Linked DNA regions of Homo sapiens: regions 2, 3 and 4 are each linked to region 1. The links are contacts of gene promoters, found by promoter capture Hi-C in blood cells and fetal thymus (Javierre and others, 2016). All regions are on one chromosome and are shown on one strand. Each heading gives the region's core, a stretch centred on a gene start or on the middle of the fragment in contact. The rest is flanking DNA. Distances are from core to core; before and after follow the strand shown. Region 1 holds the start of MXI1 (MAX interactor 1, dimerization protein). Region 2 overlaps RBM20 (RNA binding motif protein 20). Region 3 overlaps SHOC2 (SHOC2 leucine rich repeat scaffold protein). Region 4 holds the start of MIR4680 (microRNA 4680).

Region 1 (5,389 bases), core at 931-3,430:
CCCCTGCAACAAAAGCAAACACACCAAACAAAACCACGTCTTCACCCAGCTCCCCACCAGCTCTGGCTTTTCAGAAACTACCCTCCAGACAAATGCACACATAGCTTCCCGCGCCCCATCCCCCTCCGACCAGCATGAATAATTGCGAAGCGATTCGGCTGCACAGCCTGCGATGCGCCTTTCTCGCAACCCAGGCACTCCGGGAAAACAGGCGAGAAGAGAAAGAAAAGAACGCACCACCGACCTCACAACACAAATCCTCGTTTTGGCCTTACAGCGTCTGCACAATTGCGCTGCCAACACACGGTTCCTTTAACCCTGAAGACCTGGGGTATCAGTCAGCAATGGTGTTTTTGTGTCTGAGGGTTGTTGTGTTGGGTGGGGGGAAGGTTGCAAGATCTGACACGTTGCAATCGGGACCTTTCTTCTTTCTTTCTCTCTCTCTCACACACACACGCGCACACGTACACACACACACTCGCGCCTCATTGATCTTCCTACTTGTTCGGACACATTAAACATCCCGGTTTCCCCCTATCTGTCGGTCTGTCTGCCTAGTTCCCTTCCTCCTTTTCACAGCTATTATTCTGAGGACGGTGCTGGATACGCTGCACACGCGTGCCCCCGTTAGGGCGCTGAGTCGACTGCCTGGGGAAAGCTGGGTGACCTGGCTGGTAGGGGCAAAAATGAAACAAATAAATACAAAAAAGAAGCCAGGCCAGGGTGGGGTTCCCAGCACACCCCCACCCACGCACTACTATCCACGTGAATCTGGGGGTGGGCGGGTGGGGGGAGTAGAAATCGACCAGGAAGGCGTTTGCCTTGCTTGCCCTGTGCGCTCACTCAAGAGCCGTCTCCCGGAAAATAAAGAAAAAGCACAGAACAGCCCACACCTTCTTCCCCAACTATTGTTTCTCAAAGATCCCAAAGTTTCCTTCTAGCCGCGTCCCCACGGCCAAGTTTCCCGGGCTCAGGACGGCGTGTCCGGGGCGAGCTGCTGGCGTTGCTTGGCCCCGCCGGCCTCCTTCTTTGGGGGGGGGGGGGCGGCGGTGGCACCCCACGGCAACGGACGTGCAGGGGGACTGTGTCCGTAGACGTGATGGCCTGAGCCCAGTCCTGCTGCTAGAGGGAAGGAAAAAGGCGAAGTAGGAGGGAGAGAGAGAGACAGAGCCGAGCCCACGCCGTGGAGAGCTGTTTGGTTGTTATTGTTGTAGTGTGTGTCTGTGTGTTTTCTTTCTGGAACCTCTGAGCTCTGCCTATGGTTTCCAACTTTCGGCTTCTAATCCCCACCCCACCCAGGAACGAGCAACAGAAAAACAACACTTGTCTGCCTGAGAAGGCTCCGGAAAAAAAAAAAAAAAAAAGGAAGAAAAGCGACCTCAAAGAGATGAGCTCTCGGCTCAGTTGTCAGCAAACAACAACACTCCCCCGCTCCTCCGCTGGGCCATCCTCCCAGCCCCAGCCCGCCGGAGAGGACAGACCGACGCACCGACAGGCCCCTCTCCCCCTCGCCCGTCTTTGTTACATCTTTAGCAGCTTTGTGCGTGCGTGTCCTTTCTCCGGTGTCATCGGCTTTACTGCCAAGGGCTGGATGTGTATGTTGGGCGGGGGGGGGACGGGCCGAGCTCGCAACAGGGGTCGCCCAAGTGGGCGAGAAAGAAAGAACCGGGCGCCGAGGAAGAGCAGGGGCCCCCAAACTTACTTTTGTTTTCTTTCTCGATCTGCTCCAGGTAGCTGGCGGCCTCGAGCAGAATCTGCACGTTCTGCAGAAAAGTGTTGATGTGCTTCTCCATCGAGTTCTCGCTGGTGTTGAAAATGTCTGAGAAGGGGCACCTGGGCTTGGCCCCAGCGGGGTCCTCGGGCAGGGCCGGGGGCTGGGGCGCGGCCACGGCGGGGGGCACAGCCGGGGGCGCGGCGGGGGCCAGCCCCGCGCCCTCGCAGCGCGCCTCCTTGCGCGGCCGCCCGCGTTTGCCCATGGAGGAGCGGGGGTCCGCCGAGCTCGTCCTCTAACGGGGCTGCGCGGCCCGGCCGAGCTCCGGGCCCCCAGGGAGACCCGGCCGGCTGGAGCAGAGAAGGCGCCGGGGCGAAAAGCCGGCCTGACTTCCCGAGCCTCGCTGCCTGCAGTTGTGTGTGTGAGTGTATGGGAGTGTGTGTCGGTCTCGCTGTGAGTCTGTGTGTATGGGAGATTGAATGAACCTACAGGACAGACGGAGGCACTCTGGCGCCTGGGTCCTAGTGCGAGCCTGTCGCCATCGGACCGGTCAAAATAAAAGGTGGAGACTAGCGAGCGAGGCAGGGACCGCCCCTGCCCGTCCCCGCAGGCTTCCCTGCCTCTCCCCAAGGCTTACCACAGAGTAGAACACTGTCTTTTAACCGGAATGGAAAAAAATACCTGATGTCTCTGGGTGCACCTGCATAAAAACAAACTACTTTTTTCACAGAAAAATAATGCCTCAGAAAGTGTCCAGCACAATGCCTGGCACATAGTTAGGTCCCCATACATGGTGGCTGCTATGACTTAAAAATAAATAAATAAAAGCTCCCCAATCCAAATGGGAAGAAGGGAACCAGTGTGTAACCAGAAGATCCCCCCACCCCCAACACAAACACTCCTACTCACAGACACACATACATACGTAATCACGCACACACTTGCGAGGCACCTGTGTGTGCCTTCACACAGTCAAATGAAATCCCAGGCCGTCCAAATCCGAGTTACAGATTTACTCATGCCTTTCTCCCTTCAAATGCAAAGTTATTTTCCAGAAGTGGGAGGAGATGTCAGCATCCCTCTCCACACTCCTCTGCCCAGCCTTGGTTCAGCTGTGCAAAGCTCACACCAGGATGCCTCCACACCTGGCTCCCTTTAATTTGAGAGGCAGAAGTGGCAGCTCAGGAACCACCCCCCTCCCCAGCTGAATTCCACCTTTTGCCTCTGAAAACCCCTACCCCAGCTGACATTGTTTCACTGCCACTGCTGTCCGCAATCATGGATGCTTTCCAGCCCTGGGAAGTACTGGAGGTGTCAGGGGATGATTGAAGGCTGCTCTAGGGTGCCATAGGAAAGGGTTCAAATCCCAGCTCTGCTGCATACAGACTGTGTGAGCTTGGACAAGTCCCTTAACCTCTCTTGGCCTAAGTTTCCACATCATTGAAATGTGTGATAAGATGCTTGTGTATTGTATCTGACTTAGCACACTCTGGCCCATGGTAAGCTCTTTTTCTTCCAATCCAGACCCAGGCAAGAGCCTGAGTCCCCTATTCTGATGTAACTTGTATCTAAGAAAGGAACAAGATGTAGTGAACAAGACTCTTCTGCACTTCCTTGGAAAATATCTCTATGACAAGCCCATCTAAATATGGTTACTTTGCAAGGTCACCTGGAGTTTTCCTCCAGGGGAACCATTTATATAGAGGACAAAGACAATGCTGCCCCCTGGAGGTGTGCGATGCAGCCACCCTACTCAAAGGCAGCTTCATACACATTGTCATAAAAACTCTTGATGGCCGGACGCAGTGGCTCACGCCTGTAATCCCAGCACTTTGGGAGGCCAAAGCGGGCAGATCACCTGAGGTTGGGAGTTCGCGACCAGCCTGACCAACATAGAGAAACGCTGTCTCTACCAAAAATACAAAATTAGCCGGGCGTGGTGGCGCATGCCTGTAATCCCAGCTACTCCGGAGGCTGAGGCAGGAGAATGGCGTGAACCCGGGAGGCGGAGCTTGTAGTGAGCCGAGATAGCGCCACTGCACTCCAGCCTGGGCGACAGAGCCAGACTCCGTCTCAAAAAAAAAAAAAAAAAAAGTTTATCTTCCATTATTAGAACAATTACTGATTTTTTGCTTCTGTGAGAACCACAACCTGAGTTATTCGTGTTGAAATGCCTGTAAACATCTAAAAATGTTAGGAAGACCTCATGTATGCACAGTTTCAAACAAGCTTTCTCCAATGCCATTTTGCAAAAACTGGCCCTTGTGTGAAACAGCTCTGATCTCTCTTGCCCCAAATGAAAGATGGTACTGAGACAATGAACCAGCTAAGCCCAGAGAAAACCTTGCTTTCTCTTTAATTGCCCATTGGTGGCATGGGTCAGATGTATAGTACTGCAACATACATGCACCACCAAGACAGGCACACGCATGCATGAGTGCCATGGTGGGGGAAGGGTGTTTTGTAATTATTTATTTATCCCTGTTCCATCTCTCATAGGTCTGCGAGTTTCAGAAAGCCCAGTGGGAATCTTCAAGCTGGGCCACGGATCTGACCAAAGCCAAAATAAACAATGGCTTGAAGAAAATCTACAAAAAAGTGCTGATTTGCACTATTCCCACAGTCGGCCACAGCCCCCACCATCATTCCCATGGAAAACACCACGGCTGGTGCCAAATCAAGTTTTCCCCCCATCATAGGGGCATTGTTTTTTGTTATTATGTGAGTTCTTAGCATCAGACAATGGCACCACAAGAGACACAGTGGAAGCAGGAGAAATGCCTTTTTGTTTCACAAAGTCTGTGTTACTGTGCCCCCAGAGTCTCGCATATAGTTTAGTTGCATATATTCATTTTGGTAACACGTATGTGGAACGACGAATGTGCCAAGCTAAAGCCCGAAGCCCCCTCCTTATTTGTTTTCAGAGCCCATCAAGTGTTAAATCATATTAACATCCCATTGCTCTCTCCCTTCTCCCGCTCCGTTCCCCAATTAACAGATTTCTCTAATAAAGTTGGCCCCAACAGAAAGAGTGGTGTTTCAGGGGTTATATCACAGGACAGGCATCCAGGATGCTGGGTTACAAGCTCAGCTCCATTCCCGATTAGATTTGCTTCCCAGGAGGAGCCATTCAAACCCTTTGCAACCCCCCCTTTCTTTGGGGTTTTGATTCCAGAAGTAAACAGGCCCCTTTGGAAATGCTGAGAATTTCTGCATAGAACAGGTAGGGGATGTGAATACAGCCATTCTGATGAGAACACATGTGAACTCTTTGAAAGAAAAGCAGAAATGCCCAATGAAGTCAGCTAGAATGCTCTCAGAGGGCCCGGGATATCTTGGGTGCCCAGTCGGCCTGGGTCCTGCTTTCCCAACACTCTGTTCATTTGTTTGTTTGGCTTATTTGCTTGTTTGGCAATACCTTTCCATGGACCTTGTTTGTATATTAAAGCAAGATTGTTCTTTCTTTTATTTGCCCCTTTCCCCCCAGACGTTCTATACTCTTACATCAAAGGAGTTGTTTGGCCTATAATTATGTCTTTATGTACACAGAGGCTGGTTAATTACTGAGAAGGCGATGGATGCGTTGCCATCGAAACCTACCCACCTTGCATTGGGATGGGATGCTCTTCCCTCTGTCATGGACCATTTTGGCTCTCTTGGGTTCCTTAGCCTTGCTCT
Region 2 (5,284 bases), core at 2,364-4,863, 620 kb before region 1:
ATCTCAAGTGCAGAGTGCAGTGTACTTCCCCAGCCATGCCCACCCCCAGTCCCCGAGCAACGCGACTGGCCTCCCTTTCCTCCCATCTGGGAGCCCAGTCCTTGACATCCCTTATTTCAGCTCTATGCTTTCCATGGGACAAAGCCAAAAAATTGTCTCTCACCTCCCTAGAAGTCTCCATGCCAGTAGTGACCAGTCCTGCAGGCTAAAGGGTTATGCAGCCCCGGTGAGAGGAGCCATAATAGGTCTTAAATATTTCATGAGTGAATAATAATAATAGACAACCCTTATTAAGTACCTCCCACTGGAAGCCACTAAGACCTTACCAGTATTTGTTCACTTAATCCTCGAAATAACTCTGCGTAGTAGCCTCCTATTACTATGGCTGATTCACAGATGAAGAAATCCAAGCAGAGGTTAAATAAGTTGCTCTTTGTCATCCAGCCAGTAGGTAGTAGACAGGGGATTTAAACTCAGGGAATCAGATTCCACAGACTGTGTTCATAGTTTCTGCACAAATGTAGCCTTTCCTACACTGTGTTGCTGCCTGAACTGGAAGAACCTGGAGAACAGAGTGATCTGAGATCGGAAATCCTGAGTTTTTTTTTTTGTTTCTTTTCCTTTTTTTCTGAGACAGGGTCTCACTCACTCTGCTGCCCAGGCTGGAGTGCAGTGGCACAATAATGGCTCACTGCAGCCTGGATCTCCTCCCAGGTTCAAGCAATCCTCCTCCCTCAGCCTCCCAAGTAGCTGGGACTGCAGATTTACACCACAACTCCTGGCTAGTTTTATTTTATTTTATTTTTTTGCAGAGACAGGGTCTCCCTATGTTGCCCAGGCTGAGAAATCCTGAGTTCTAACCTGCGTTTGCTATGTCATCCTGGGTAAGTCTCTGGACTTCAGTTTCCTCACCTGTCAAATGCAGAACCTCATACCATACTCTTCCTTCGGGGACCAATGAGATAATGAATCTCAAAGCTAACTGAAGACTATTAACAAATACAATCTGTAAAGGCCCCGAACTGAAAACAACCCAAATATTTGTCAACAGATGAATAAATAAACAGAATGTGATGTATCCATATATGCAACGCAATACTCCTCAACAATAAAAAGAAACAGACTGGCCGGGCACGGTGGCTCACACCTGTAATCCTAGCACTTTGGGAGGCTGAGGCAGGTGGATCACCTGAGGTCAGGAGTTCAAGACCCCAACAGTTCAAGGCCAACATGGTGGAACCTTATCTCTACTAAAAAAAGACCAAAAACTAGCCAGGCGTGGTGGCAGGTGCCTGTAATCCCAGCTACTCCGGAGGCTGAGGCAGGAGAATCACTTGAACCCAGGAGGTGGAGGTTGCAGTGAGCCAAGATCATGCCACTGTACTCCCGCCTGGGTAACGAGAGAAAAACTTTGTCTCAAAAAAAAAAAAAAAAGAAGAAGAATGAAACAGACTACTGATCCACCCAACAGTACAGATGAATCTCAATGATGTTGAGCAAAAGAAGCCAAACTAGCACATACAATATGATTCCCTTTATATAAAACTCTAGAAAATGCAAACTAATATTTAGTGACAGAAAGGAGATCCTTTACCTGGGGGTTGCACTGTGGGGAGGGAGGGGTTACATAGGAGACAGGAAATTTGGGATATGATGAACATTGTTCCCAGTCTTGATTGTGGTGATGGTCTCACAGGTATATTTATAGGTCAAAACTGATCAAACTATGCACTTGATATGCACTTACTTTATATCCATTATAACTCAATAGAGCCAATTTTAAAAAGGTGAGATACTATTTTCTTCCTAACTGGTTAGGAAAGATTAAAAACTGATAAAATCCAATGGGAGGTGGATATTGGGAACTCTCACTCAAGGTCGCAGGGAAAACTGATACCATCTTTTTGGAGTGCAATTTAGTAGCAATTATGAAAATTTAAAATGCAAATACATACCACCCTACAACCCCCTGGCTAGGACGCTCTCCCACAGGAACACTGGCATACACATACCACTGAACAAGCACATCTGAAAGGCAGCAGAGAACAGAAGCTAAGAACATGGCTCTAGAGTCAGATGACTGGGATTTGAACCTGACTCTGGTTTTTGCCAGTTATTAGCTGTGTGACTCTGCATTTCAGATTTTTTATCTGTTAAATAAGGATAAAAACAGCACCTACCTCATAGGTGTTTTGAGAGGGTTAAATGTGATAATACATACAGATCCCTAGGGATGGTGCCTGCATGGGGAATGTTAACAATAAAAGCTTAGCTATTAAAATGGGAAAAAGAGCAGACAGCCTAACTGTTCACCAGCAGAGGAAAGATCAGTCATTTATAGCATAGCTTTTACGATGGAATATTTGCAGTGGTTAAAAAGAATGTGTTCTCTATGTACTGACATGAAGAAATGTCTAAGACCTGCTACTAAGTGAACTTGCAGAACATTATGTGTGTAGTGTGATCCCATTTTTGTGAGAGAAAAACTGGGCATGACAGTGGTAGGCTACCTCTGGAGACTGGGGAGAGACTGGAGGGAAGAGATCAATCAGACCTTTAATATTGACTTGATATGGTTCTTATTTTTTGAATTTGTTACAATAATCTTTCACACTTTCTATAATGAAAAACAGTAGTAAAACACAAATTACAAGGTAGCAGAATTTATTCTTAATTTTTGCTAGTATCAATTAGGTTCCAAGTTCTTGGATGACAAGAGACTTGCGTTATATTTCTTGGTTACCCCAGAGTGTCTAGCACAGTACCATGTTATCCAGTAAGTATTTGCTGACTGACTGAATGCATGAAGGAGCCCTCTCTTCTCCTGCAGGGTGGCCTTTGCAACTGTTTTCTAGAGCTAAAATACCCAGGGTCATCTCAGTTTATTCTAAAGTTAGTATTTCTTTTTCCTTCTTTCTTATGTTTTTGTCTTGGGAGATGCTGTGCAGCAAATTTATCCCTTAAAAAAAAAAGGAAGTTTGCTCTCCAGATCTGACTATAAAAATGGTACACCTGGAGGAAAGAAATAGTAAGAGATTTTTTTAAAGGAGAAGGGAAAAAAAGAGCAAGTTGGATGGAAAGGACGAGCCTCCACACTGACCAGCCCCTCCCTGCATGATCAGACACGTGGTCATCAGGCATCAGATGACCCGTGCTTTTTATGCTTCCTTGTGACACTTTCCCAGGTGACACTTTCCTGAGCTCTCCTTCTGAGCAGCTGCTACTACTACTTTATCTAATTCCGACCTTTCAGAGCTAATGCGAGGGGACTCAAAGATGATGTAGGCTGGAGTTGCTGGGTTAGTGGTTGTGTCAGAATCTCCCAGGGAACTTTCTTAAAGTGCCTTCACTCCCTACCCTGAGACTCTGCTTAACTCTTCTCTTTGAAAAGGGATTCATTCCTAGGTGATTCCATCAGTAAACTCCCTCCCCACTTCATTCCCAACACTTCCACCATTGAAAAAATCGCTGTCTAAATTACAGAGAGGAAACTAAGGCTCAAGAAGGGGTATGACTTACCTGAGGGCACACAGTCACCCATAAGTAGGAAGAACAGAAACCCAGGTCTCCCTGTTCAATACCCTTTCTATGAACTAGGGGTAGTCTGCCCCAAACACATTCTATTCAGCATCATTGCCTCAGAAAAGTTGGTCCTTTAAAGAGAAAAAAATATGTAGCATTGTTCTGGGAAGGACTGGAGCAATGAACAATAGCAGACGAAGTTCATTTTTGTTGACTTTATGGAGGCTGCTGGGCATCTGCTTTCCTGCCTGAATAAAGGCTAGGCTTAAAGACTCCATGTCATCAAGAATAAAGCATTCCCTGACAGGAAAAACAGGACTTCTTAGTTCTGGGTCCCAGGGCACTGTTATTCAAGGCTGTTTTCACGGAGTATCTGGTCTATTACGGGAGACTGAAATTGCAAGAAAGTTTACAGCCGCCCCTTGCAAATCTAGGTTATTGCATCATACACTTAAAATAACGATAGGCCGGCCAGGTGAAGTGGCTCACACCTGTAGTCCCAGCACTTTGGGAAGCTGAGGCAGGAGGATCACTTAAGCCCAGGAGGTGAAGACCAGCCTGGGCCACATATGGAGACCCCATCTCTGCAAAAAAAAAAAAAATTAAAAAAATTAGCCGGGCCTGGTGGTGTGTACCTGTTGTCCAAGTTTCTCAGGAGGCTGAGGTGGGAGGATCACTTGAGCCCAGGAATTTGAGGCTGCAGTGAGCTGAGATCATGCCACTGCACTGCAGCCTGGGTGACAGAGTGAGACCTTGTCTCAAAAGAACAAAAAACGATGTCAACAACAAAATGCCAAAAAGCTCTCTCAAGCTCTTGAGGTTGCTATGGAACTGTTATTTCCTAGACCTGAATTTCAGGAAAGACTGTGTGTTTTGCTTACCTAGAGGAATGCTAAGTTCACTGAACACATCCTCTGGTTCCCAAGAGGGCAAAGAAAGGGGCTGTTTCAGTTCCACTTCAGTGTACTCTGGTGACCTCACCTCCAGAGATTTCATTTCCACGTACCTGGAGTTTTCTGCAAAACATGAACCAAGGCAAAAAAAAAAAAAAAAAAAAAAAAAAAGAAATACAACATGCCTCAAAGAGTCCCTGAAATTCTATGCCTGCATAGTATGATTGGGAATTGTTCCTTGGACTGCTTAATCACATAAGGCTGGGGCAATGGTTGCTAATTAGAACCAAAGCACTGTCATTAGGAGCTTTTTCCACTGCCAAAAGAATGCCACACACAATAAAACTTGGCAAATGTTTGCATTTGGCCCAGGGGGATGGGCTGCTGATGCCTTCAGTTGAGAAGATCCACCCCCCACCCCCCATGCCTCCCATCTCAGTATCATTCCATCTCTGCAGGCAGAGGAATTACTGACGGGCAAAAATTGTGCTGACGTCCACCGAGGCTAGCAAAACAGGCAATGCCATTCTCTCCCCAAGCTTGTCAAGCTGTTATTAAATATGAACCCCAAACACTGGGTCAGTTAATGAGCCTCTAACACTGGCACATGTTGAGACCTATACCGCAAAATAAAAGGGGCTTGATTGGAGTGAGGTGAAGATTTCACTCCTCCTTTATTCTTGCCTTCTCTAGACAGAGCCTGGGCCTCACGGTTTCTCTAGCAACAAGAAGGCATTTCACGGCGGGGTTTCCATGGAAACTCAGATCCGTGCAGGTAAAAAACAGCTCAGGTCAGCTTGACATGGAAAAAATCCCAAGCCTCCCAGTTACCTAACAGCTCATGCCACCCACAGGGCCCTGGGTTGAAA
Region 3 (5,861 bases), core at 581-3,080, 770 kb before region 1:
TTTCAGACTACAGATGGTGAAGGCCTGGTTCTTTGTCTTTTGCTGTTCCCAACTGGTTGTAGATGAATATTTAAAACACAAACTCACACACTTGGATGTCTCAGCAATGTCAAATTGTTATGTAAGATTCTAAATGCTTACTTTCAATTTCTGTTCTTAATTTGGGCAAACTAGTAACAAACAGTTGGTGGCCCAGTACCTGTCTAGTGAGTAGGCTACACCTTGACTAGAATCAGAACAACAACAAAATTCTCTGATCCGAAGATACTGAGCTTGGGTTGATAGAGAAGATAAGATGCAATTATGAGAGAGGAATGGAATCCACAAGGAAGAAAAGTTGAGCTGAAGTTACAGTTTGGTCATGAAGAATTTAAGATATCAGTGAGACATCTACGTAAAATATTTAGTGGCTAACTATGGGGGAAAAAGATGAAGAAAATGTTATCATGGTAGAACATTTTTGTCCTAAGAGAAAGCTGGATTTAACATCTGCAAACACTGAGCTCTGGCTAAGGGTGGTGAAGTCGTGTTGATAATTTAAAACTGTGGATAAAATACTTAAAGGCATACAGGGAGACCAAAGTTAAAACTAGAGGGAATTTACCCTTAAAAGAAGAGAACTGTAATAGGCAGACTTCTAAGATAACCCCCAATGGCCCTGCCTCATGAATAATTGTATACGTTATATAATTACCCCTCCCCTTGAGTGTGGGCTAAACTTAGTGACTTGCTTCTTACCAACAGAATATGGCAAAGGTGATGGGATGTCACATTTGTGATTCAGTTACAAAAGATTCTGACTTCCACCTTGCTAGCACTTTATTGATGTCTTAGCTTACACGCTTTGATAAGGCAAGCTGCCATGTTGAAAAGACCCATGTGAAAAGGAACTAAGAGCAGTCTCCAGCCAACAGCAAGAAATTGAAGCCCTCTCTCCAGCAACCTGCTAGGAACTAAGTCCTAACAAAAACTACATGAGTTGGGATGTGTATCCTTTCCCAGATGAGTCTTCCCAAGCCCTGGCTAACACTATAACTGAAAAACCTTGTGAGAGACACTAAATCAGAAGGTCCAGTTAAGTTGTGCCTGATACCCAAAACAAAGAAACTATAAGATAACAAATGATTGTTGTTATAAGAGTTATCTTTTAGAGTAATTTGTTACACAACAATAGATAACTAATACAGCAATCACATGAGATTTACTTTCATAAATGCCTTTTTATAAAGCTTTTACCATGAAGTAACTAAAAAATCTGCAGGTGAAAAGTAAATCTCAAGTCGAAGGCCAGAGTCCTACTGCCTAAGAAGCCAAAGGACAGAGTTCAGGGTTATAAGAGTGACTGGAATTCAAGGTTGGATACTCTGTAAAGGAGGAAATCACAAAGAGCAGAGCCCTAAAATCTTCAAATACACACTCCTCAAATTCTTGCTGACTCCGAAAATACATGTGGGAGAGGAGACTGCAAGGAGCCCAAGGGGAGAACCACAGCTAGAAGGCTAAAGGAGCTGAGCAGAGATTTCAACAGTTGCCAACTGTGGTCTTTAAGAGTTTGGATTTTCAGTCTTGTCAAGTTGCTGGAGAGTAATAAACAAAATTCCAAAAGGGCTATAACATAGGAGAGTAAAGATCACATCTCAAAACTAAGGAATTTACCCTAGGTTTAAGGCTATAACCAAATAGCATCACCCTTACAAGAGCTAAATCTAAGTCTCTACGGTCAAGGTGACTCAACAGCAATTTAACCGCCTAGCAGAACAAAATGTAACACTTTTCAGAGGATAATGGAATCCACAGGAGTTACAGTATTAGCTATTTATACTAGCCAATCAAGAATTACTAGACTGTCTTCTATTTACCACCATGATGCAACTAGAAAATGAACAAAATGTTTGAGAAAATGGTTTGCAGACTGCAGACAACAGCCATATATGACTGTATTCCCTTGTATCACAGGAAAACAACAGAAGTCCCATGATTGCCCCAGGTTACTGCCTGGAGGCAGGTTCCAGGTCACAGAAAAAGCAGGGAAGGAATATAGAACAAGGGCCAATAGTTATTACTAAGTTAGGGCAAACGATTTTAGTCTAGGAAAGCCAAGATGGTTAGAATTTGGGAGGCAGAACTGGAGACAGAAGAGAGCAGCAAATAGATTTGTGCAATCTGCAAGAAAGTCTTATGCAGTGTTTGCCTAAATTCTTATCTGCATTAGGTACAAACAGACTACCAAAGGCTAGGCAAAGACCTAGCAGCAGCAACCCAAACAATTCCCAGCAGTCACACAAGGTTGTGAATAGTGTGAATTCCTACCAGCCACAAAAAGACCTCATAATATATAGTTTATCAGGGAGTCATCAAAATTTATTACCTTAGTAGTGGGGTTAAATTAGATGTAGACAAAAGGCTACTAAAACTACCATAACAAAGCTTAAAAGCAAGCCACGAAAGGATTAAACTGACTACAGAAAAATTTAACTGTATGCCAGAACAAAGTCCAGCACTATTAAAAGAATACAACAAAATCCAAGACTCAACAATGTGAAAATGTTATGAAGCTCACATCCAATTAAAAATTACTAAACATGCAGGATGGGTACGGTGGCTCACGCCTGTAATCCCAGCACTTTGGGAGGCTGAGGCGGGCGGATCACCTGAGGTTGGGAGTTTGAGACCAGCCTGACCAACATGGAGAAACCCCATCTCTACTAAAAACACAAAATTAGCCGGGTGTGGTGGTGCATGCTTCTAATCTCAGCTACTCGGGAGGCAGGAGAATCGCTTGAACCCAGAAGGCAGAGACTGCGGTGGGCCGAGATCACACCATTGCACTCCAGCCTGGGCAACAAGAGCAAAACTCTGTCTCAAAAAAAAATTACCAGACATGCAAAGAAGCAGGAAAATATGACCCACAACCAGGAGAAAAATCATTCTGTAGCAACAAAAACAAAAATAAAAGAGGAAACTATAAGACAAGGACAGTGAAAAAGCTGTTAAACAATGAGCTCCATATGTTCAAGGTAAAGAAAACTTGAATAAAAATGACACCCAATGGAATGTATAGAGGTGAGAAATAAAATACCTGGTATGAAAACTTCATTGTATAGAACAGTAAGATTTAGACACTGAAGAAGAAATGATATACAGCAACAACAAAAAAATAGCAATAAAATTATCTAAAATATACATGGACACACATGGACAAACAGAGCATCAATGACTTAAAATGTAAAGTCTAATATACATGTAATAAGAGACTCAGATAATAGAAAAAAAATGACCAAGTAAGGGAAAAGTTACAAGAAATAATGGCCAAAATTTTTCTAATTTTGATGAAAACCATAAACCCACAGATCCAAGAGGCTTATAAACTCCAAGATCAGAATAACAGCAGACTTCTTGTCAAAAACTAGGCAAGCTATAAGAAAATGCAGAGGTGTCTCTAAAATACTGAGGGGGGAAAAAAGGAAACTTTCAAACTAGCATTGCTATATTAGGAAAAACAGCTTTCAAAAACGAAGGCAGCAAGGTGTAGTGGCTCATACCCTTAATCCCAACATTCTGGGAGGCTGAGGTGGATGGATTGCTTGAGCCCAGGAGTTTAAAGACCACTCTGGGCAATATGGTAAGACCCTGCCTCTACAAAAGATACAAAAACTAGCTGGGTGTGGTGCACACACCTGTAGTCCCAGCGACTCGGGAGGCTGAGGAGGAAGGATCACTAGAGCCCAGGAGGTCGAGGCTGCAGTGAGCCATAATCACACCACTGCACTCAAGCCTGGGTAACAGAGTGAGATCCTGCCTCAAAAAAAAAAAAAGGCAAAATAAAGATTTTAAAATAAACAAAGCTGAGTGAATTCATTTTGAGCAGACCTGTACTACAATATGTTAACGGACGTTCTTTGGGCAAAAGAAAATGATTTGAGGCTGGGTGTGGTAGCTCACGCCTGTAATCCCAACACTTTGAGAGGCCGAGGCAGGCGGATCACCTGAGGACAGAATTTGAGACCAGCCTGGCTAACATGGTGAAACCCCGTCTCTACTAAAAATACAAAAATTAGCCGGGTATGGTAGTGTACACCTGTAATTCCAGCTACTTGGGAGGCTGAAGCAGGAGAATCACTTGAACCCGTGAGGCAGAGGTTGCAATGAGCCAAGACTGCGCCATTGCACTCCAGCCTTGGCAACAAGAGCAAAACTCCATCTCACAAAAAAAAAAGAAGAAGAGAAGATCCAGCAACGAGTGCTAAAATTAGTGAGCAAAAGATTAGGGAAAAACAAGGTATCTGCATAGTCTAAAAACATCTCCCAAGATAAATTAAAAAGAAAAAAATATTAACTTTAAAGTGGAGAAGCACAGCAGAAGCTGTGGAGAAGCTGTGGAGAAGCATTAACCAACTGGTCGAGGTCAAAATCACCAGTAATGAGACTTATCAATATGAATTGATATAATTCACTGGAAAAGGCAACACAATCACCACTGTGGCATCCTTGACAAAAAAACCAAACTCAAACTAGTCGTGAAAAAAAAATTAAACAAAGGAAAAATGAGTGATATGCTATAAAACATTTGAAGAGTACTCTGCAAAAGTATCAAAGCCATGAAAGAAAAGGAAAGCCTTTCAGTCTTTGCTTTCAGACTGTCAAAGATCAGAGGATACTATGGACACATGACTATTAAAAATGTAACATAGGCCGGGCGCAGTGGCTCACGCCTGTAATCCCAGCACTTTGGGAGGCCGAGGCAGGCAGATCACGAGGTCAGGAGATCGAGACACGGTGAAACCCCGTCTTTACTAAAAACACAAAAAATTAGCCGGGCGTGGTCACAGGCACCTGTAGTCCCAGCTACTGGGGAGACTGAGGCAGGAGAATGGCGTGAACCCAGAAGGCGGAGCTTGCAGTGAGCCAAGACTGCGCCACTGCACTCCAGCCTGGGCGACAGAGCGAGACTCCATCTCAAAAAAAAAAAAAAAGTAACATGGGATTCTAGAACAGAAAATGGACGTTAGTGGAAAAACTGATGAAATTAACTAAAATTTGTAGTTTAGTTTATTGTATTGTATCACTGTTAATTTCTTGGTTCTGATCACTATACAATGGTTATATAGGATGTTAATTAATATCAAGAAGCTGAGTGAAGGGTATATGGAAATCTTCCAAAATGGTTTTGAAACTTTTCTGTATGTCTAGAATTTGTTCAAAATAAAAAATTTTGAAAAATTGTTTAAAAACATAATTTAAACCTTAAAGCAAAATAGTATCAATGTATTATTATGGGACTTATGATAATGTGAAGAAGTAAAATGTATTGACAATAATTGTACGAAGAATGGAAGGAGGGAAATAAAGGTGTTCTGTTGTGAAGTTCTTAGGATATATGCAAAATAATACAATATTATTTCAAAGTAAAATGTGTCAAGTTCTGATAATGTATTGTAAACACTAGAGGAAACACTAAAAAAAACGCCACAAAGATGTGTAACTAATATGCCAAAAGTTGAGATAAATGAAACTTTTATTTAAAAAATACTTAATCCATAAGAAAAGAGAGGAAGGGAAAAAAGGAACAAGTGGCTGTCAGGCAGGATAGAAACACAAGACCTAACTATATGCTGTTTACAAAACCCATTTTAAAAAGATAGAAAAAGGTATACAATGCAAGCACTGTATGACACTGTTGAATGTAAAACATTATCAACCACCTTGACCTTGCTGATATTTTTACAATCCTCCAAAAAACAACAGAATATAGTCTTTTCAACTGCATTTAGAACACTTATCAAGACAAGCCCTATTTTATAAATCAAAGCAAAAAAAAAATCTGAAAATCTCTCTCATATATTTGGAAACTGAACAATTAA
Region 4 (5,167 bases), core at 995-3,494, 690 kb before region 1:
ACTATTTAACAATAACTAGAAAATATGCTTCTGTGTGCTGAAAGTAGTATGTGTTATCAATAAAATTGATAGTATTCATAGAAATACAAAAATATCCAAGATTGATGAAATTTGTATTGTGAATGTAAACACTCTGGTTTGTATTGAACATAAACAGTTAAACTATGAACCAAGTTTTATGGGGTTTAAGTCATGTTTTTAGAATTGCAAATTAAATTATTTGTTCACCATTCCTATTGCTATCTTTTATAGATAACATTCTTGGGATCTTTTATAGCATTCTTGGGCACAAGGGATTAAATACAACTTTTATATACAGAGGATCTTTACATGTTTATTAAATCTGAATTTGAAGATACATTCCAATCTTGCATAAAGTGTTTGTTGGGCTTTTACATTACGTAATTAAAAAACAAAATTTTTTAACCAATTTTATGTGCCATGTCACGTTTAATGCTATCTTGTGTGACCAGATCCCACCAGTAATGACAAAACTGTCTTAAACCTCATTTTTTTTTTTTTTTGAGACAAGAGTTTCACTCTTGTTGCCCAAACGAGAGCAATGGCACCATCTCGACTCACTGCAACCTCTGCCTCCCAGGTTCAAGCAATTCTCCTGCCTCAGCCTCCCAAGTAGCTGGGATTACACGCATGCGCCACCATGCCTGGCTACTTTTGTATTTTTAATAGAGACAGGGTTTCTTCATGTTGGTCAAGCTGGTCATGAACTCCCAACCTCAAGTGATCCGCCCACCTCGGCCTCCCAAAGTGCTGGGATTACAGGCATGAGCCACCGTGCCCAGCCCTTAAATCTCATTTTTAAGAAACCCTCACCTATTCTGTAGTCAGCTAAGCTTTTAATTACATTAATTTTAAGCACTTGAGAATAAAATGACTGCATTTATCATCCAAGTGTCAAACAATTAAAAACCTAAAAATGGTAACTATATATAAGCTGAGGTAATATGGGCTTGATAAAGCCCATGAGGTAAATATGAACACTAAACTTGGTTTTAATTCTAACAGACTATATCTAAACCTGTAAGCAGTATACTCCTAACAGTACCCTCATAAATTCTGAATATAATTCTTGTTTGCTGCAGTCAATATTTGGCAGTTTAAATTAGCACAGACGTTGAGGCCTTGCTGAGTTATTAGGCTATGTAAAAGAGGTTAAAAATATGATCATTCTTTATTGTTAATTGGTAATATTTTCTCATACATTAGGTAAATGTCAAGCTTTGGGTCTCTGGAGTATAACTTTTTGTAACATTAGCCATTATTTGGTAACAGAATTTAAGGATGATGGAATGATGGAAGGTATTACATATTTCTAAAACTTAATTAAGCTCTAGGTCAGATAACAATGGAGTAAAGTGATACCTGCATTTTTTTCCCCAGTGTAATCTTAATTTACTATTGTATTTTTCACTTAAAATTTTGTAGGGAAAAAAAGTTTTCAAGGGAACACTAAGATTAAATTGACTAGGTTCAAATATGCTTCCTTATGAGATTCAAAATTTACTGTGTGAAATTAAAGTTTAAGAGACCTAAAAAAATGTACTCCCAATAAAGAATCAATACTGCTTCACATGTTTTATTTTGGTGTACATTCTTCTAGAACCAGGTTCATTTTTCCAGTTTTGTAGAAAAATAGATGTTCCAGCCACCTTTTACTTAACTGTCTAGTCTTTTAAGACCAATCAGTATGTTCCCTGGAAAGATGAATAAGTCTCATGACTAATTTTTTAAAAATTCTTTAAGACAAAGAAATAACTTTCTTTTTTTACTCCCAAAGCACAGTATCTCAACAGCAGCAGCCAACATGGGGTTTTAGCAGCTTAACTTTACCCCCTAAATAAAGCTTTGTATAAACCAGTGATTTTACTACAAAAAACACTGTCCTTGAAAGAAAGGAGTGGCAGTCAGACATCAATGCAAAACTTGGAATGATTAGATAATAAACATGGCACTTACAAAAGGTAGCTTATTAGAATATTCCACTTAAGAAGAGGTTACTTTTCTGTCCCTCCTTGCCCCCTCGAAAAACAAAAAAAAAAGAAAAAACATTTCCTTTAAAAATTCCCCTTAAATGTAGGTTTATAAAATGTCAGAAATGCCTTGTACCCAAAACAAGTGCTTAAAAAAAAAAAAAAAAAAAACTTGTGCTAACAACTCTTACAATTCAGATATATATTTTTATAACATCTAAGACTGCAAGAGTTCTTATATTCAGTAGCTCTCTGGTTTAAGACGACCTCCATCTCCTTCGCTTACAAAACGCTTTCTGCCCCTGTAATGAAGAAAAAAAAAGACATGAAAACAGATACAAATTCTGACTATAGTCAATATATAAAAAAATTAAAAACTTGGTATTTTTTCGTTACGTGTTAGCTTTTAAAGGGTTTTCCATTAAAAAAAAAAAGCATGCCTCTAATTCCTTTGGAAAAGACTCCCTACTATATATCTTAGCATAAAACATCAATATCAAATCTGAGTTTTTGTTTTAATAAGTTCACTATCCAAACAGAGTCACATTAAAAAAAGTTGACTCAAACTAAAACATTTTATTTAGAAATTTAAAATTATTTCTAATTAATTTCTAATTATTATTTGTAAGCTTAACAGTAAGCCAAATAGGAAACACTAACATAATTCAGAATTATGCAAACTGGAGCTGTGCAACCTATCAAAATATCCATGTTTGGCAATTTAAAAAAAAATGTTTTATCAACTGTAGAAAAGCCATAACTTGAATGTGGAAAAAAATCAGAATTACAGCCTATGCCCCATTTTGGGATTCGTGCTTTGTCAAACTCAAGAAGCCCTGCTCTATAATGTAACCACACTCTTACCTACATGTAGTGGCAATAGCCCAGAAGGAACAGCTGGCCAGTGGCCTAAAGCAGTAAGTGGGAAATAGAACTTAGGCAACATTAGCCCTTACTCTCTGACCCCAGGCCAATAGGCACAAGCATGCAAAACCACACACAAATGTGCACCTTACCCAAATAGGCTAAAAGATGAAGGACCCAAGTCAAAGCTGTATGGTATGTATACACAGAAAGTTTATTGCCTCATGTGACCCTTGAGAATAAAGCCACACAGAAACAATCAGACTTTCAAACAGAGGCTGAAAAACTTTCAAAAAGCCAATGCCAGGGTACTGGCCCCTTTTCATATTAAGTCTAAGTGGAAAACAGCTACATCATCTTGAACATAAAGGCTTCAGACTGTATGAGACCAAGGTAGGGAATGAAAAAGCAGTCAATAATAAGAAGGCCAAAGTTCAGAGTTTTTACTGATGTATATCACTTGGCACATCCATACATAAATCCTGCCATCACCAAGCTAACGTCTGTATTTCCAAACATTTCTAGTAAAGCTATTAAACTATCTTTCATCACTTTCTTTTCCCTCTCTTTTAATGGCTTCTAAAATTCTAAAGCAAAGGCCCCTACCAGGAAATATTTTTCTGACTTTTAATTCTTACAATGCACTTAAAAATATCAAAGCTTAAGAAATTTTCCAGATAAAAAATTATAAGAACTTAAGATTATATAAAACTGACCCACACAAGCAAAAAGTTTAGCTATTACTAAACATTTATATTATTACATTATAAGCTTCATTATTAGCTTTAACAACAACAAAAAAACTTACCAACTAGTAGCAAAAATATTAATAGCTCCAAGGAAAATCACCCACACACATACACTTTCCAGTGAGAACATCCTCCACACACCCCCCAACACACACACTTTCTAGTGAGAACATCCAATTAGCCCTAATTCTCCAACCTGTAAAGAAGTCAAGGAAGCCACATCCAGTACAGGTAAGAGCCTAGATCTTTGAAGCCAGAAAAGTCCTGAATTCATACTTGGCTTCTACCATGTACTAGCCATGTGACCTTAGAAAAAGTACATTATACCTCCCTAAGCCTCAATTTTCTCATCTTATCACTGATAATACCTACTCTAAACACTGAAACTACTTACAACAAAGGACCTGCTCCACAAGATTAGTTTCTTTCAAATAAACTAGGACTTCATGAGGCAGTCCTGTACAGATTTACAAGGGGGCTAAAACAAGCTTCGCCCTTCTTTCTCCATGAACTCACAAGAGTCACGTTCTTCAGTGACTTCAGGGAACGATAAACTAACTTAGCAGTTAACCTTCCCAAAGATCTCATCCACTATTTTACATTGAGAAAGTAGTATTTAAATAAAGTACCTTGAAGGACAAAGATCTCTGAGTTGTTTGGAAATTATTCCAGCCTGAAAACATTCTTCTACAAACCGCTCCAGCACAGAGTATGAATGTGGGACATCCAGATTAATGTCCGGAATTTCATTGTAAATTCTCTCATAACCCTACAACAATGAAATTACATGCAGAATTGTTAGCCCATATAAAATAAATGTCATAAAACACAATCCATCACTATGTCATCAATTTGTATTTAAGGCCAAATATTCAAATGGTTAAACTGAAGTCAGATTTGAATCGTGAGAAGCACAGAAAGTAGATTTGTTACAGTGTTTTACAACTGTTCTCTTTTATTAGAGTCAGGAAATAACAGACATTGGCAAGGTTGAGGAGAAAAGGGAAGGTTTATACGCTGTTGGTGGGAATGCAAATTAGTTCAGCCCCTGTAGAAAGTGGTTCGGAGATTTCTCAAAGAACTCAACATAGAATTACCGTTCAACCCGACAATCCCATTACTGGGTGTATACCCAAAGGAAAATAAATCATTCTACCAAAATGACACCTGCATTTGTATATTTATCGGGTACTATTCACAACAGCAAAGACATGGCATCAATCCAAGTGCCCATCAATGGTGGATTAGACAAAGAAAATGTGGTACATATACGCCCATGGAATGCTACATAGCCATAAAAAAGAACAAAATCATGTCCTTTGCAGCAACGTGGATGCAGCTGGAGGCCATTATCCTAAGAAAATTATCACAAACATAAAACCAAATAATGCATGGTCTCACTTGTAAGTGAGAGCTAAACATTGGGTACACACAGACATGAAGATGGGAACAATAAACATTGGGAATTTCAAAAGTGGGGAGGTAGGAAAGAGGACAAGAGTTGAAAAATTACCTATCAGGTACTATATTTACTACCTGAGGGACAGGATCATTAATTAGAAG

The links. Contacts are between HindIII fragments. The CHiCAGO score rates a contact against its expected background, and 5 or more counts as called.
Region 2: a contact is called between a fragment that was not itself captured here and the fragment with the promoter of MXI1 in region 1, in 1 of 17 cell types (fetal thymus). The highest score is 5.1, in fetal thymus.
Region 3: a contact is called between a fragment that was not itself captured here and the fragment with the promoter of MXI1 in region 1, in 1 of 17 cell types (total B cells). The highest score is 5.3, in total B cells.
Region 4: a fragment that was not itself captured here is called in contact with the fragment with the promoter of MXI1 in region 1 in 1 of 17 cell types (activated CD4 T cells); the score reaches 5.4 in activated CD4 T cells.

The regions. Positions count from the first base shown.
Region 1 is chr10:110,204,396-110,209,784 of GRCh38, reverse strand. MXI1 (MAX interactor 1, dimerization protein) reads right to left here and starts at 2,180. Exons shown (of 6, transcript NM_130439.3): 1 at 1,703-2,180. The coding sequence starts at 1,976. RefSeq lists a silencer at 1,930-2,009 and an enhancer at 3,599-4,099. The HindIII fragment of the contact is 6,685 bases long and covers 1-3,942 here.
Region 2 is chr10:110,822,734-110,828,017 of GRCh38, reverse strand. RBM20 (RNA binding motif protein 20) reads right to left here. Exons shown (of 14, transcript NM_001134363.3): 12 at 4,404-4,538. Among named protein-coding and RNA genes, the nearest start is that of PDCD4-AS1, 46 kb to the left of the region's middle. The HindIII fragment of the contact is 2,687 bases long and covers 2,270-4,956 here.
Region 3 is chr10:110,974,271-110,980,131 of GRCh38, reverse strand. The region is part of intron 2 of SHOC2 (SHOC2 leucine rich repeat scaffold protein); the gene reads right to left. Among named protein-coding and RNA genes, the nearest start is that of MIR548E, 12 kb to the left of the region's middle. The HindIII fragment of the contact is 1,198 bases long and covers 1,232-2,429 here.
Region 4 is chr10:110,895,154-110,900,320 of GRCh38, reverse strand. PDCD4 (programmed cell death 4) reads right to left here. Exons shown (of 12, transcript NM_014456.5): 11 at 4,234-4,373; 12 at 315-2,293. The coding sequence ends at 2,233. It overlaps BBIP1 (BBSome interacting protein 1), which reads left to right. Exons shown (of 4, transcript NM_001195305.3): 4 at 1-1,591. MIR4680 (microRNA 4680) reads right to left here and starts at 2,231; the gene lies at 2,166-2,231. The HindIII fragment of the contact is 756 bases long and covers 1,867-2,622 here.